Linked DNA regions of Homo sapiens: all the other regions are linked to region 1. The links are contacts of gene promoters, found by promoter capture Hi-C in blood cells and fetal thymus (Javierre and others, 2016). All regions are on one chromosome and are shown on one strand. Each heading gives the region's core, a stretch centred on a gene start or on the middle of the fragment in contact. The rest is flanking DNA. Distances are from core to core; before and after follow the strand shown. Region 1 holds the start of C1QL3 (complement C1q like 3). Region 2 has its middle 21 kb from the start of MINDY3. Region 3 has its middle 63 kb from the start of MINDY3.

Region 1 (4,999 bases), core at 1,137-3,636:
GATGAATGATGACTGCTGAGTGCCTTTCTAAATCTCAGCAGAGCTTTAAAATGTGAGGGCACTCACTTGCAAAATCAAATTTGCTTTGGCGTCAGAGAAAGTAGGAGGAAAGCCTCAGTTACTAGAACTAGTATGGCCAGTCTCGGGCTGGGATGGGATATATCCATATTGTGTAGAGGGGAGTACAGCAGCAAGCTCATTGAATGGCATTGATCCTCCTGGAAGCTCTCTGTTTCGGTCTCATCATCTGCATGAACAGAGAGTCCATTTCAACTCTTAATATTTTATAAGCATTGATGAGCATTTTATGAGCATTTGACTCCAATATATCTTAAGCGTTAGTCAATGGGAAAACTCCACATAGCTTGAGGTTTTGATGAGAACTTCTCTATACATCTCTACCTTTTAAAAACTCCTTTTGTGTCACCTACAGAACTCTTCATAGCAATAGAGAGGCCTTATGAAATTTGATAATCTGGTGCATCAGAGTTTTATTAATATCCTACCCCCCCAGTGCTGGCAGCAAACCTCACCATTTTGTCCTCCAAAAGGAAGGTGACTTTTAAGAAGCAATCCAGAAGGTGTGTTAGGAAAGTAAGTATTATGGCCAGGAGACAACTTATTATGTGTTTGCTCCTTAAAAATATGAAAATAAGGCAGCTCATGTGAACAAAAATATTATGGAACTATGTGTATAATTATGCCCAAGCAATAGGCGCGCATTTATAAAACCACTACCCTAAAATAAAAGTTAAGGGCTTGAGAAGTGGGAAGCCCTATTTTCCAATACCAGGAGCAGTGTGGCTCTCTCAGTAGCCAGGAGGTGGAGACCCCCACCCCGCTGAGCCACACAGCACAGCTTTTAGGGTTGATTCTCCCAGCCAAGGCCTGAAGGAGCTACTGACATTTCTCTTAAAAGAATCATTCAGTCTTTGTTTCCTTCTGTCTGCTCGTTTGACCTTATTTTGTTTTGAAACAGAGAAGAAAGAAAGAAAGAAAGAACTAAATTGGTGGGGTGGACTGGAGTAGGCTGGGGGGCGGGGAGATTGAGGCACAGGGAGGAAAGGAGAAGTCCATGCTGTGACACCCGCAGACAAGATCACAGGCTGCTGATCGTCACCCAGGATGTTACTGTTTGCTTGCTGTAGTCTTATTTGTTCCTGCTTTTCTCATTTCAGATTCTCACCCTGATGTAATAAGTCACCGTCTTCCCAGCCATCATCCTCGTATTGACAAGCAAATGTCACCCACGTTTGATTGACATCTGTTGCTCCTGAATGCAAAAGTATGATTTAGGATTCAATTCTACTTATTTATTTAAAGCCATTCTTGTGTGTCTTATGTATTTGTTGGTGGGGTAACTTGCCTGATATCTACCCTGGAGGCCTTCCAGTAATATGATAAACCATGCTGTTCCTTCTGCAGCTCACCCACTGAGAATGGGGGCTCTTCTTTCTTGTATTTCTCCTACTTCTCCCCTCCCTCAATGTATATTCGGGAAATCTGCTATGGAGCTTATAGAACTCTTTCCATATGCTAGGAAAAGACCTTGCCCAGCACTTGTGCAAAAGCTTCTTGCTTGATCTTTTGACGCCATTTTGACAAGTGGTTATTTCTTGTACATTTAGCGACTTTAAGTAAACGCAACTTCAGGGCCATTGGCGGTATCCCCCGAAAGACTGCTAGAACTGTAAGACTGTAAGCACAGTACGTATGTATGCACTCACCACGGTGCAGCATTTGTAAAAAGGACCAACCCCCTCCTCCCCCAGAGGCGGTGGACATGTTCATTTAAAATCATTCACAAATGTTCTTTGGCTTTTCAACATACCTCACTGTTCTTGGGGCAACATCTTATTCATTTACAAGGCAGAGGAGGAAAACCATCAGGTTAAAAGAAAATCACATCTACCATCTGGAAAATTCTAAAAGGCCCTCCTTCTGTTAACAGTGGCATTTTGAAAACACCTGAAGCACTGATTGTAGAGGAGCTAGCAAAGAAACTGTCAACTCAGCCACCCTCCTTTCAACCTTCACCTCCACCCTCCAACTGGGGCTGCTGGCAGTGGGGAAATCGGGGATTTAGGTGTGACCCTTGAGCTCTGAAAGCTGTCGCACAGCTGTCTCCCTTCCCCAGGTGGGTCCAGCAGGACCTGCCATCGCTTGGTTCAGCAAGGGAGTATTCAGAATCTCACTGTTCATCCATGTGCAGAGAGAGAAAAAAAGAGAGGCCGAAAAAAAAAAAAAAATCCCACATTGTCAGAGTAATGCCAAACTCTCTCTGAGTGGGATGAGCAGAGCAGATGCTGCAATGAGATGCCAAAGCGGCTCCCCTTCCTCTGTGCCTTGGGTGCCTATAAATTGCTCCGGCGCGCGTTTGTCAGCCTCCTCTTCTCCTGGCAGGTGGTACCCAGGCAGAATTCTGCCTTCAGTCTCTCTCTCGCTCCGCTCCCGGCCGTGAGGCGCTCGCCGCTGCTCGCTCGCTCCTCCGCCCCAGCTCTGAGCCTCGCCGTGCCGACCGTGCCCGCCGCCGCCGCCGCTGGGCGCACCCGGGGGACGCCCGGGCCCACGCGGGGCTTTGGGGTGCGCGTCTATTCGAGTTGTGGTGGTGGCAAAGGAGGAAGAGAGAAAGGAGGCAATAAAAAAAAAAGGCAGCGGACGGGCGAACTGAGCGAGCGAAAGAAGAGGAGGAGGAGGCAGAAAAAGGCAACTTCAGACGGAAAGTTGGTGCGAACAGGCGCAGTCTGCAAAAACGGAAAAGTCGATCGCAGGCGGCGGCGGCATAAAAGTGTGAGCTGCCCGGGCGAGCTCAGGAGGCGGCGGCTGGCTCTGCCCTCCCGGTGGCCGCGCCGGCGCCGGCTGCAGCCACAGGTGCGAAGGAGCTCGCGGGGGGCGAGGGCGCCCCGCGCACCCCTCCCCCGGCCCCCACCCCGGGCTCGGGACTTCGGCTCAAGTCACTGGGCGCCCGCGCTCCCTCCCCAGCCGCAGCCTCCGCGGGGGGAGCAGGAGTCGGCAGCAGCGGCCGGCGCACGCACGCCCAGGGGAGTTGGGGTTCGCAGGGGGTTGTTTTCGGCTCTGAAGAGGTCCCCGCCCAACCTTCAAAATTCTGTCCAAAAGCAGACAAGAGGATCGCCCCGCGCTGAGCCGGCTGGTGGGCAGCAGGAGGCGCCTGATCGCCGCCGGGGCGCTGGGGGTGGTGATGGTGCTGCTGCTGGTGATCCTCATCCCGGTGCTGGTGAGCTCGGCCGGCACGTCGGCGCACTACGAGATGCTGGGCACCTGCCGCATGGTCTGCGACCCCTACGGGGGCACCAAGGCGCCCAGCACCGCTGCCACGCCCGACCGCGGCCTCATGCAGTCCCTGCCCACCTTCATCCAGGGCCCCAAAGGCGAGGCCGGCAGGCCCGGGAAGGCGGGTCCGCGCGGGCCCCCCGGAGAGCCCGGGCCACCCGGCCCCATGGGGCCCCCGGGCGAGAAGGGCGAGCCGGGCCGCCAAGGCCTGCCGGGCCCGCCCGGGGCGCCCGGCCTGAACGCGGCCGGGGCCATCAGCGCCGCCACCTACAGCACGGTGCCCAAGATCGCCTTCTACGCCGGCCTCAAGCGGCAGCATGAAGGCTACGAGGTGCTCAAGTTCGACGACGTGGTCACCAACCTCGGAAACCACTACGACCCCACCACCGGCAAGTTCACCTGCTCCATCCCGGGCATCTACTTCTTCACCTACCACGTCCTGATGCGCGGAGGGGACGGCACCAGCATGTGGGCTGATCTCTGCAAAAACAACCAGGTGAGCGCGGGCGGGCGGCGGGGAGGGCGGGGAGGGAGCGCGGGAAGGTGCGGGCGAGAGGGAGGAGACCCCGGAAATGGGGGTGGGAGCCCGCGGAGGAAGGGCGCGGCGGCCGGGCTCCCTGGAGCGACGGCAAGGGGGGACGCCGTCCCACCCTGGAGAGGCGGGGGTCGTGCGCGCAGGAGGGCGCCCCGCGGCCTGGAGAGGGCAGTTCCGGAGTCTGGGACCCTCGATCGGTGCGCGCCCCTGCGAGCGCGACCCTCGAGGGGCGGGAAGCCGGGAGCTGGGTCCCGGGGACAGCTCGTGCGCTGGGGAGTCCCGGCGCGGGAAGCGACCCCTGGCCGTGGGATCCTCCGCAACAGAGGGTAGCTTACGGGCTTTCTGGGGAGTGGAGAGGCCTGGGGGAGTCCGGAATGGGCGTGGCAGGGTGACCGACTCGGGGGTGGTAGACAAAGGCCGGAGGGAGAAACAAGGGCCCCGAAGGAATGAGTCCAAGCAGGGCTCAGCCACAGCGGAGGAGCGACCGTGGGGCTCGCCGTCGCCGAGTCCTTGCGGTGTCCCAGGCCGTGAAACTCACATATAGTCAATTTCAAGGCGCAAACTCCAGTTTCGTCTTCAGCCAAAAAATAGCGGAGGGGAGAGGCAAGGAGTGCTGATAACAAAAAGAATAGTTGAGATTCGGGGGTTCATGCGGTGAAACACAGCGCGCAGCCAGACTCAGAACCCAAACTCTCTATGGAGTCGGAGGACGCTCAGGCAGGTGGCCTGGGGGGCGACCGGTTCGAGCCCAGCCCCGGGTCTATCGGCCTCTGGACCAGCCGGCCAAGAGGATTTGATTCCCTGAGCCGGTCGGCGCCGCTACAAGGGCTACGCATGGGTCTGCAGTATTCTGCTGGGGCCACTTTACTGTGGAGAAATTCGAGGTCATTGCAAAACCGAAGCTTGTTTGATCTCTTAGTCAAAGGAGGAAAATAATATTTGTAACTACCTAAAAGTGTAATGGGACCTTCTGTGCACGCTGAATCAGTAGCCACTGAGGCGAGGCCTTGCAGCCTGCAGCCTGCGGTGTGGGCTGAGTTTCTCGGTTTTAACTTTGCTTATTGAGTGGCATAGGGGATGGCCCGCGACCCTGGCATCGCCATCAAGAGACCTCCTCTCCTGCAGCAACTTTGACTTAACGAGGTCTATTGGGCTTTAGGTAACTCGACCCCT
Region 2 (4,999 bases), core at 1,832-4,331, 640 kb after region 1:
GTTCCTAGAAAGCATGTGACAAAGTAGACACAAGAGGTAGACTGTAGTGAACACTCTAATACATCACCCAGGTCCCCAGTAAATTAAGGGCTCATGGCTCCAGTTTTTAGGGATGTTATTGTCAGATATGCTTCAGTTGACGAACCTTTTGGGATCTGTCAGTGGCAGAGAGCTGCCTTACCCAACATTATACCCCATGATGGTTCATTTTATGGTTCAACCTGCCTGGGCCAGGAGATGCCCAGATATCTGGTGACACATCCTTTCTAGGTATGTCTAGGAGGATGTTTCTAAAAGGGATTAGCATTTGACAAAGTAGACTGAGTAAAAAAGATGCCCTCCCCAATGTGAATGGGCATCATCCAATCCATCGAGGACCTGAATAAAACAAAAAAAGGGAAGAAAGTTTGAATTCCCTCCTTATCTGATTGCTGGAGCCTGGACATTGATCTTCCCCTGCACTCAGCACTCCTGCTTCTCAGGCCTTCAGTCTTGGAGTGGAATCTAGAGAACCAGCTTTCCTGGATCTCCAGCTTGCAGGTGGTAGAATCACATCCGCCTCCAGAATCAGCCTCCATAAGCCTCTACAGTCATATGAGCCTATACCTTATAATAAATCTCTGGAGCGAGATGGAGATTCAGATGTCTGTCCCATTAGTTCTGTTCCTCTGCAGAATCCTGACTAATACCTGCCCCTTCCCAAGGTGGCCAACATCTATTCATTGATCAGTGTGGGACAATAAGGCCTGGCCATCCCAACCCAACTTGGAACACTGCTAAAAAACTATGTGAGTTTCACAGCTTACCCTGCGGGTCAGCCAGGCTTGTATGAAGTTCATTTCCCTCGGCTTAATGCCACTTTCTTTCCCTCAGTTTCATGAGTTTCAATCCCAAGGACATACCTGAGTGAACAACCTGCTTCCTAAACACCAGCCTCTTTCTAGAAAACCCAACCTGTGACAACGGCTCAGCACTCTTGCCCTTAGGAGAACCATGTCATCTCCCAAGTTCCCTGCAGATCAGTTTCCCCTGAATGAAATTCCAGTCTTGCTACCTGTTATAGTAATTATGTTCATCTTTCTTCTGATTCTTAAAGGCTGCCTCCTGGCCTCTGCTTTCCTGGGATCTAGTACCCTCGTTGCTACTAAAATGCTCGGTTCTGCAACACCATCAGCTACCTTCAGCCCCAACCTACAGAAGACAGACTTTCCTGAGGTTCTCAAAATGCTGGTGCCCCTTCACCTCACCAGGGCATTTCTTATCAATTGGGCAAATGTAGTATTTTCTAGACCCTCCTGAGGACAGTCAGCTGGTGGGTTTTCTGGTTAGGTACAGTAGACTCATTATAGCATTTTCAAGTCCTTGAACACCCCTTTCTCCACAATCTCTCATGGATTTTCTGGCATCTCTACTTCTGTTAAGAGGTGTATCAGTTTTTCCAAGCTAAAACCATGCTTACTAACTGTTATTTAGCAACACATCAAGAAACTTTATAATAGAGAAGTCTTGAGAGTCACCACTTTTGTCACTCAGGTGATCAAAGTAAACACCATTGGACAAATTAAAATCACATGAGAGAATGCAGTGAGAGCACAATATCCCCTGTGAGAGACTCCCACCCAGAATCCATAACCTAGATCTCCTCATGAGGAAACATGAAACAAACTCAGATCGAGTGACATTCTGCAAAACAACTATCCTAGTGTTAAGGTCATTGTCGTGGGCAGAGCTGTGTCACCCCCCAAATGCATATGATGAGGCTCTAACTCCCCAGTGTGACTATATTTACAGATAGTGCCTTTAAGGGGGTAATGAAGGTTAAGTAGTCATAAGAATGGGACCTCCCATAGAACTGGTGACATTCCAAGAAGAAGAAGGGAGAGCGAGTGTGCTCTCCAAGCTTGCACAGAGGAAAGGCTGTGTGACCACACAGAGAGAAGGCAGCCGCCTATTAGCTAAGAAGAGAGGCCTCACAAAAACGAACCCTGATTACACCTTAACCTTGGACTTCCAGCTTCTATAACTGTGAGAAAATGAAGGTCTGTTGTTTAAGCCACTCCTTCAGTGGTATTTTCCATGGCAGCCCAAGCTATCACAGCCACATTTATGGAGATCTGCATTTTTCTACCATCCCTCTCTCTTTTCTTCCCTACTTATTGACATTTTAGCTAATATTTCCTAGCTTTATGATTCTTTTTCTAAATAAGGAACATTTCTTCTTGTATCCTACTAGGGCTGTAAACAATGTCCAGAGATTTACTTCTTTGAGTATTTTCCAGGGGAAGTGTGTTGTGTTCTTGCAGCTCCAAGTCTGTTTTCTAGGAACTTCAACAAGGATAAATCAAACTCTCATTTTTATCAGTTCTAAGTTAAAGAATATGATGCAATATAATATATGACCACTTTGCATAAAATTTCTGTAAAAACAATTAAGAGCTATAATTTTTAACGAATAAAAAGCATGCTTACTGCTATCAAGAAATATAAAGTCTCAAAATTAAAAGTTCATCCTCATTAAAAAAATCACTGTTCACTTCCCTGACATAAAGGAAAAAGGGCAAAAGTGTACTCTGTTATCTCTCACAGAATGGATAAGAAACTGCAAACAAACTTTAAGAGAGTGTAATGGCAGATGGGAATTGAATAATAACAAAATAAGTCTTGGATCTGCCCTCATTCTCTTTTGTGCCAGGCAAAAGTATATTTTCCGCTCTTCACTTACTACCCCAATTAGAAAAAAAAAAATGCCAGATCTGAAAGTCAAAGAGGTCCTGCATGCACAATTTAAACCTTATTGAAGATAGAACCATATGGCAACACAATTCATGGAAAGGATAGGGGGAAAATATCTATTATCACAATTTAATAAAAACAACACTTGGCGGGGGGCGGTGGCTCACGCCTGTAATCCCAGCACTTTGGGAGCCTGAGGTAGGCGGATAACGAGGTCAAGAGATCAAGACCATCCTGGCCAACATGGTGAAACCCCGTCTCTACTAAAAATACAAAAATTAGCTGGGCATGGTGGTGCATGCCTGTAGTCCTAGCTACTCGGGAGGCTGAGGCAGGAGAATCACTTGAATCTGGGAGGTAGAGGTTGCAGTGAGCTGAGATCGTGCCACTGCACTGCAGCCTGGTGACAGAGCGAGACTCTGTCTCAAAATATATATATATTTTTATTATATATATTAAAATATATATGCAAACATATATTTGTACAAATATAAATATATATATTTTACAAATATATATGTACAAATACAAATACATATATTTGTAGCCAGATGCAGTGGCATGTGCCTATAGTCCCAGCTTCTCAGGAGGCTGAAGCATGAGGATCACGAGCCCAGCAATTCAAGGCTGTAGTGCGGCATGATCACGCCTGTGGATAGCCACTGCACTTCAGCGTGGGCAACCTAGTAAGACTCCCATGTCTAAAAGGAATAAACAAATAAAAGTAACATTTGTACTATTCTATACACTGTATTTGTCCTCTAAACTTATTCACTTACTCTACAACAGAGCAACTATAGTTAGAGTTAAAATTTCATCTGTTCAGTCTCCATTGTGGAATAAAAAAGAGAACATAATTTAGAGAGATCCAGCTTTTAAGTCTGGGCTCCAACTCTTACTTTCAGAGTAACTTTTGAAAATGTATCTTAATTGTGAAATGGGGATTGTGACAGAGTTGCATAATAAGAATGAATGAGAATAAACTCAAGAATAAATTTCAGAATGTGTCTGTGAACCACAGATATATGCTGTGTAAATGAAAACTACACATTCAAACTTAAACCAAAGGAAAATGATTTTAAGAATATTTCCCAGTCTATTAATAAAAGAAAGAATATGTTCAGTGTATTGATAATTGCATCATTTAATATATAGCCCCTAACTTGGATGTCTGCTCCCAAATAAATCTTATTTTGTCTACTTTGAAACTGAATTTTTCATCTGCTAACCTATTCATCCAATTTATCCAAATGGTTCTAAATGTTTGTTTCATTTCTTGATATTTCTGTTGTTTACAGTTTTAGCATTACTAAAGAACTGTATCATTTTCAATTACTGTTTTTTCTGATCATCCATTACAACAATGTAGGACTAATTAGCTTAGAAGAGCTGGCTGTTGCTGAAATCCCTGAGGAGAATCACAAGAAGTCTCAAACTAATTTCTCTGTCAGTGGCTCATGCCAACTTCCTATTACCACCTCCTGTGATCATGCTGTGACTTTGACAACTACCCTTGAGGAAAAAGCTTTGCCAGTTTACAACAGTGAATTGCAGGCAGAACAAAGAATGGGGTAGAGTCTGATGTCATCCTTTCTTTCTTCTCTTTATGACAGGGCATATGAGGTTACCCATCTCAAGCTGTCCACATGACTTGCCACAACTCGAAAGGGATCTCCACAGTGTTGTTTCTGGCAACACATAGCTACAAAGAGATCTTTTGGCAGAGCTGTGACCCATGTCCCATGTTATATTTAATGGTATATGTAAAGAAAAAAACACAAATCTTGACTTGCTTTCCTTGGTATTGCAAAAAACGTGAATTTTTTTTTTACTAATACCCAGTAGTTTTTTAAATTTATAAAATGAAAATAAGATGAGAATTTTCAGGAACAAAAATATTAAAGCAGATATTCTCTATATATCAGAATCTATAACTACCTATTATGAATATTATTTTCGGTTTTTCATGACTTTGTAGACAAAATAGCAGACATATAGTGTGCAATTTCTAGACTTAATATACATGAGAAGAATTCAGGCAGTTTTGCTCTGCAATATAACTTTAACCATATAACATTTTTTAAAACCCTAAAGTCAAAGTTTCTCAGGGTGCAAAAGCAGCTCTAAAAAAGCTGAGATGCTTATCAGTGCAAGTAACGACAAAATATTTTTCTTTCACAACATTCAAATTATAATACAATGGCACCACCTGTTGATGGAATGGCAGAATTGAATCCTAAGACTGCAACACAATATCAAATGTTTA
Region 3 (4,999 bases), core at 1,556-4,055, 600 kb after region 1:
GAAGTGTTATAACAATGCTATGTAATTGCACTTTTTTCCTACATGATATGAGTCTATTACATTAGAAAGTAATTATTATTCTAAAAGCTAGAATTATTGTAACTTTGGTTTTTAATTCTATATCTGGTTTTCTAAATAATTTAAGAGGCTAATGCACTAAAAAGAATTATTTATGTTTTTTAGCACACAATAAATAAATATGTAATTTTTTACCTCAATAACTGAAACAGGTGAGGATGGAGCTGTTAAAGGAGCAGCATTTTGTCTATTATTGAAGTTAAACAGATATAAATTCATATTAGCATGCTATAACTTTAGGATATTAAATGTAATTTCCATGGTACCAGCAAAGGAAAGCTATAGAACACATACAAAGAAAATAAGAAAGGAATTTAAACATTTCACTATAAAAAATCAGCTGAACATAAAAGAGAGTAATGCAGAAAATGAGGGACAAAATTGCTATAAGGCATGTAGACAAATAGCAAAATAAAAAGTATCTTCTTATCAATAATTACTTTAAATATAAATGGATTAAATTCCCCAACTAACAGGTATTGGCAGAATCGATTTTAACACAAGATCCAACTCTATGTTGTCTATAAGAAACTTATTTCAGATCAAAAAACATAAAAAGATTGCAAATCAAAGGATGAAAGAAGCTATTTCATGCAAATAATGACCAAGAGAGAACAGGGGTGGCCATAGGAAAATCAGACAAAATAGACCTTACATCAAAACAGACTACAAAAGCCAAAAAGGACGCTATATATCAATAAAAGGGTCAAGACAGCAAGAAGATATAACAATCAAAAACATATATGCAGCTAATGACAGACTATCTAAATATGTGAACCAAGAACTGACAAAATTGAGGAGAAGAGTAGGCAGTTCTATAATAGTAGGTGAAGATTCCAATACCCTACCCTCAATAATTAATAGAACAACCAGAAAAAAAATAAGTAAAATAATAGAGGACTTAACAGCAACAACAACAAAACCTAGATCTAACAGATATATAGAGAACTCTCTATATATTCTTCCCAAGTGCATGAGACATTTTCCAAAATAGAGCATGTGTCAGGCTAAGAATTAACTCTCAGTATATTTTTTTAAATACATATAACACAAAATACTCTCTTTGACCACAATGGAATGAAGTTAGAAATCAACAAGTGAAACTGGAAAATTTACAGATTTCTCAAAATTAAACAGTATGCTCTTAACCAATGGATCAACAAAAGAAACTAATTCAAAGGGAAATTAGAAAATCCTTAGATATTGTATAGCACAACTTATGGAACACAGTAGAAGGAGTGTCAATGGTTAAATTTATAAACACTTTTATTAAAAAACAAGAAAGGCCTCAAATCAACAACCTAAATTTATAACTTGAGAAACTAGGAAAGGAAGAGCAAACTAAACCCAAGGCTAGCAGGAGAGAAATAATGAAAATTAGAGCAGAGGTAAATAAAATAGAAAATTAAAAAGCACTGGAGAAAATCAACAAATCCAAAAGTTGTTTCTTTAAAAGGATCAACAAAATTGACAAACTTTTAGTTAGACTAATCAAAAAAAATAGAGAAGACTCAAATTATTAAATAAGAAATGAAATTGGAGATATCACCAATTCTAAGAAAGAATAAGGATTATAAGAGAACACTCTAAATAATTGTATGCCAACAAATTGTATATCCTAGATGAAATGGACAAACTCCTAGAAACACAAAACCTACCAAGACAAAATTAGGAATAAATAAAAAATCTGAATAGACCTATAACTAGTAAGGAGATTAGATCAGTAATAAAAAATCTCCTGACAAAGAGATGCCCTGGACACAGTGGATTTGCTGGTGAATCCTTCTGAACATTTAAAGAACACAAATTTTTCTCAAACTTTTCCAAAAAGTTGAAAAGGCGAGAACATTTTCTAACTCTTTATGTGAGGCCAACATTACTCTGATACTAAAGCCAGACAAAGAGAATTACAGGCCAATATCCTTTGTAAACATCGATGCAAAAATCCTTAACAAAATACTGGCAAACTGAATTAGGCAGCATGTTAAAATAATTTTACACCATGACCAAATATCATTTATTCCTGGGATACAAGAAGAGTTAAATATAAGAAAATCAATCAATGCAATGCACCACATTCAAGAATGAAGAAAAAAACGATCATGTCAATTGATGTAGAAAAAGTACTTGACAATATTCAACACTCTTTCATAATGAAAACACTTAACAAACTAGTAATAGAAGAAAACTACCTCAACATAATAAAAGCCATATAAGAAAAAACCACAATGAACATTTTACTTCACGGTGAAACACCAAAAGCTTTTCCTTAAGATCAGAAAGAAGGTAAGAATGCCAGCTTTAACCACCTCTATTCAATATTGTACTGGAAGTTCTACCCAGAGCAACGAAGCAAGAAAAATAAATAAATGCATCTAAATTTGAAAAGAAGATATAAAATTATCTCTCAATATAAGTTTGTATGTAGAAAACTCTGAAGATTCTACGAAAAAACCTGACAGAACTAATAAATGAATTCAGCAAAGTAGCAGAAATTAATGCACAAAAAATCAGCTGTATTTCTAGGTACTAACATTTTAACAATATGAAAAAAATTATAAAAAAAAATTTTATTTACAATAGCATCAAAAAGATCAAAATACTTAGGGACTAACAAAGGAAGTAAAAGACATATACAGTGAAAACCACAAAATCCTGCGGAAAGAAATTTTAAAAGATAAGTAAATGGAAAACGTATCCCATGTTCATGGATTGAAATAATTAATATTTTTAATATGTTAATTCTATCCAAAGTGATTTACAGATTCAACACAATCCAATCAAAATTCCTACTTTTTGCAGAAAAAGAAAACCTTATCCTAAAATTCATATAGAATCTCAAGGGCTGCAGAATAGCCAAAGCAATCTTGAGAAAAGAACAAAGCTAGAGGACTCACACTTCCGGATTTCAAAATTTGCTATAAAACTGCAGTAACAAAATAGTGTATTACTGGCATAAAGACAGACATATAGAGCAATGGAATAGATTAGAGAGCCCAGAAACAATCCCTAATATATAATCAGTCTTTTCAACAAATGGCCCTGGAAAAAAAATGTATATCCACATGCAAAAGAACAAAGTTGAACCCTTACCTAACATTATATTAAAAAATTAACTCAAAATAAATCAAGTACCTAAATGTGAGGCCTAAAACTATGTAACTCTTAGAAAAAACCACAGGGAAAGCTTTATGAGATTGAGTTTGGCAATGATTTGAATGTGACATCATAGTATAGGCAACAAAAGAAAAAAAATAGAAAAATTGGACTTCGTGAATTTTTTAACATACATCAAAAGACACTATCAACATAGTAAGTAGACAACACACAGATTGGGAGAAAAGATTTCCAAATTACATATCTGATTCTGATAAGGGATTAAAATCCAGGCTATATAGAAAACTTCTAAAACTCAAAAACGACAACAAAAAATCCCAATTTAAAATTGGGCAAATAAGTAATATGAAATAATAAAAATTATATACAAATTGTCTCAAGAAATAGAGGAGGCAAAAAAATCTTCTCTACTGATTTCATGAAGCCACATGGTTTTTTTAAAAAACTAATTAAACATTTCAAAAATATTATTACAGACAAATAACCCACATGATCATAGACACAAAAATCAATAAGATACTGCAATTTAAACCCAGGAATATATCAAAAGAATAATAAATACATCATTACTAGGTGGAGTTTTCCTCCCCTGATCCCCAAAGTGTAAGGCTGGCTTAACATTCAAATATCAATCAATGTAATTCAACATATTAACAAAATGAATGAGAAAAATTATGTAATTACCTCAAAAGATGTAGTAAAGTATTTGACAAAAGTCAGCACTCCTCATTGATTAAAAAAATTTCTGCTGCTGCAATTATACCAATAGTTCAATATCAAGCCCTGCCCCTTACAATCAGGAAAAAAGCGAGACTATCAATTTTCACCATGTTGTACAACAATGTAGTAAACGTTCTAGCCAAAGCAGTAAGAACAACAAAATAAATATTTTTAAATTTCATAATTATTGGAAAGTAAAGAATGAAATTGTCACTATTAGCAGAAAACATGATTATGTACATAAGAGAATTCAGCGACACTTCCCGAGCCAAGATGGCCGAATAGGAACAGCTCCGGTCTACAGCTCCCAGCGTGAGCGACGCAGAAGACGGGTGATTTCTGCATTTCCATCTGAGGTACTGGGTTCATCTCACTAGGGAGCGCCAGACAGTGGGCGCAGGCAGTGTGTGCGCGCACCGTGCGCAAGCCGAAACAGGGCGAGGCATTGCCTCACCTGGGAAGCGCAAGGGGTCAGGGAGTTCCCTTTCCGAGTCAAAGAAAGGGGTGACGGACGCACCTAGAAAATCGGGTCACTCCCACCCGAATATTGCGCTTTTCAGACCGGCTTAAAAAACGGCGCACCACAAGACTATATCCCACACCTGGCTCAGAGGGTCCTACGCCCACGGAATCTCGCTGATTGCTAGCACAGCAGTCTGAGATCAAACTGCAAGGCGGCAACGAGGCTGGGGGAGGGGCGCCCGCCATTGCCCAGGCTTGCTTAGGTAAACAAAGCAGCTGGGAAGCTCGAACTGGGTGGAGCCCACCATAGCTCAAGGAGGCCTGCCTGCCTCTGTAGGCTCCACCTCTGGGGGCAGGGCACAGACAAACAAAAAGACAGCAGTAACCTCTGCAGACTTAAGTGTCCCTGTCTGACAGCTTTGAAGAGAGCAGTGGTTCTCCCAGCACGCAGCTGGAGATCTGAGAAGGGGCAGACTGCCTCCTCAAGTGGGTCCCTGACCCCTGACCCCCGAGCAGCCTAACTGGGAGGCACCCCCCAGCAGGGGCACACTGACACCTCACACGGCAGGGTATTCCAACAGACCTGCAGCTGAGAGTCCTGTCTGTTAGAAGGAAAACTAAC

The links. Contacts are between HindIII fragments. The CHiCAGO score rates a contact against its expected background, and 5 or more counts as called.
Region 2: a contact is called between a fragment that was not itself captured here and the fragment with the promoter of C1QL3 in region 1, in 7 of 17 cell types (endothelial precursors, M1 macrophages, M0 macrophages and 4 more). The highest score is 12.2, in endothelial precursors.
Region 3: a fragment that was not itself captured here is called in contact with the fragment with the promoter of C1QL3 in region 1 in 3 of 17 cell types (endothelial precursors, megakaryocytes and M2 macrophages); the score reaches 9.6 in endothelial precursors.

The regions. Positions count from the first base shown.
Region 1 is chr10:16,519,266-16,524,264 of GRCh38, reverse strand. It overlaps C1QL3 (complement C1q like 3), which reads left to right and starts at 2,386. Exons shown (of 2, transcript NM_001010908.2): 1 at 2,386-3,787. The coding sequence starts at 3,200. RefSeq lists silencers at 2,446-2,675, 2,946-3,165, 3,476-3,535 and enhancers at 3,835-4,335, 4,336-4,836. The HindIII fragment of the contact is 3,157 bases long and covers 1,574-4,730 here.
Region 2 is chr10:15,879,124-15,884,122 of GRCh38, reverse strand. No RefSeq gene overlaps it. Among named protein-coding and RNA genes, the nearest start is that of MINDY3, 21 kb to the right of the region's middle. The HindIII fragment of the contact is 2,358 bases long and covers 1,903-4,260 here.
Region 3 is chr10:15,920,935-15,925,933 of GRCh38, reverse strand. No RefSeq gene overlaps it. Among named protein-coding and RNA genes, the nearest start is that of MINDY3, 63 kb to the right of the region's middle. The HindIII fragment of the contact is 925 bases long and covers 2,343-3,267 here.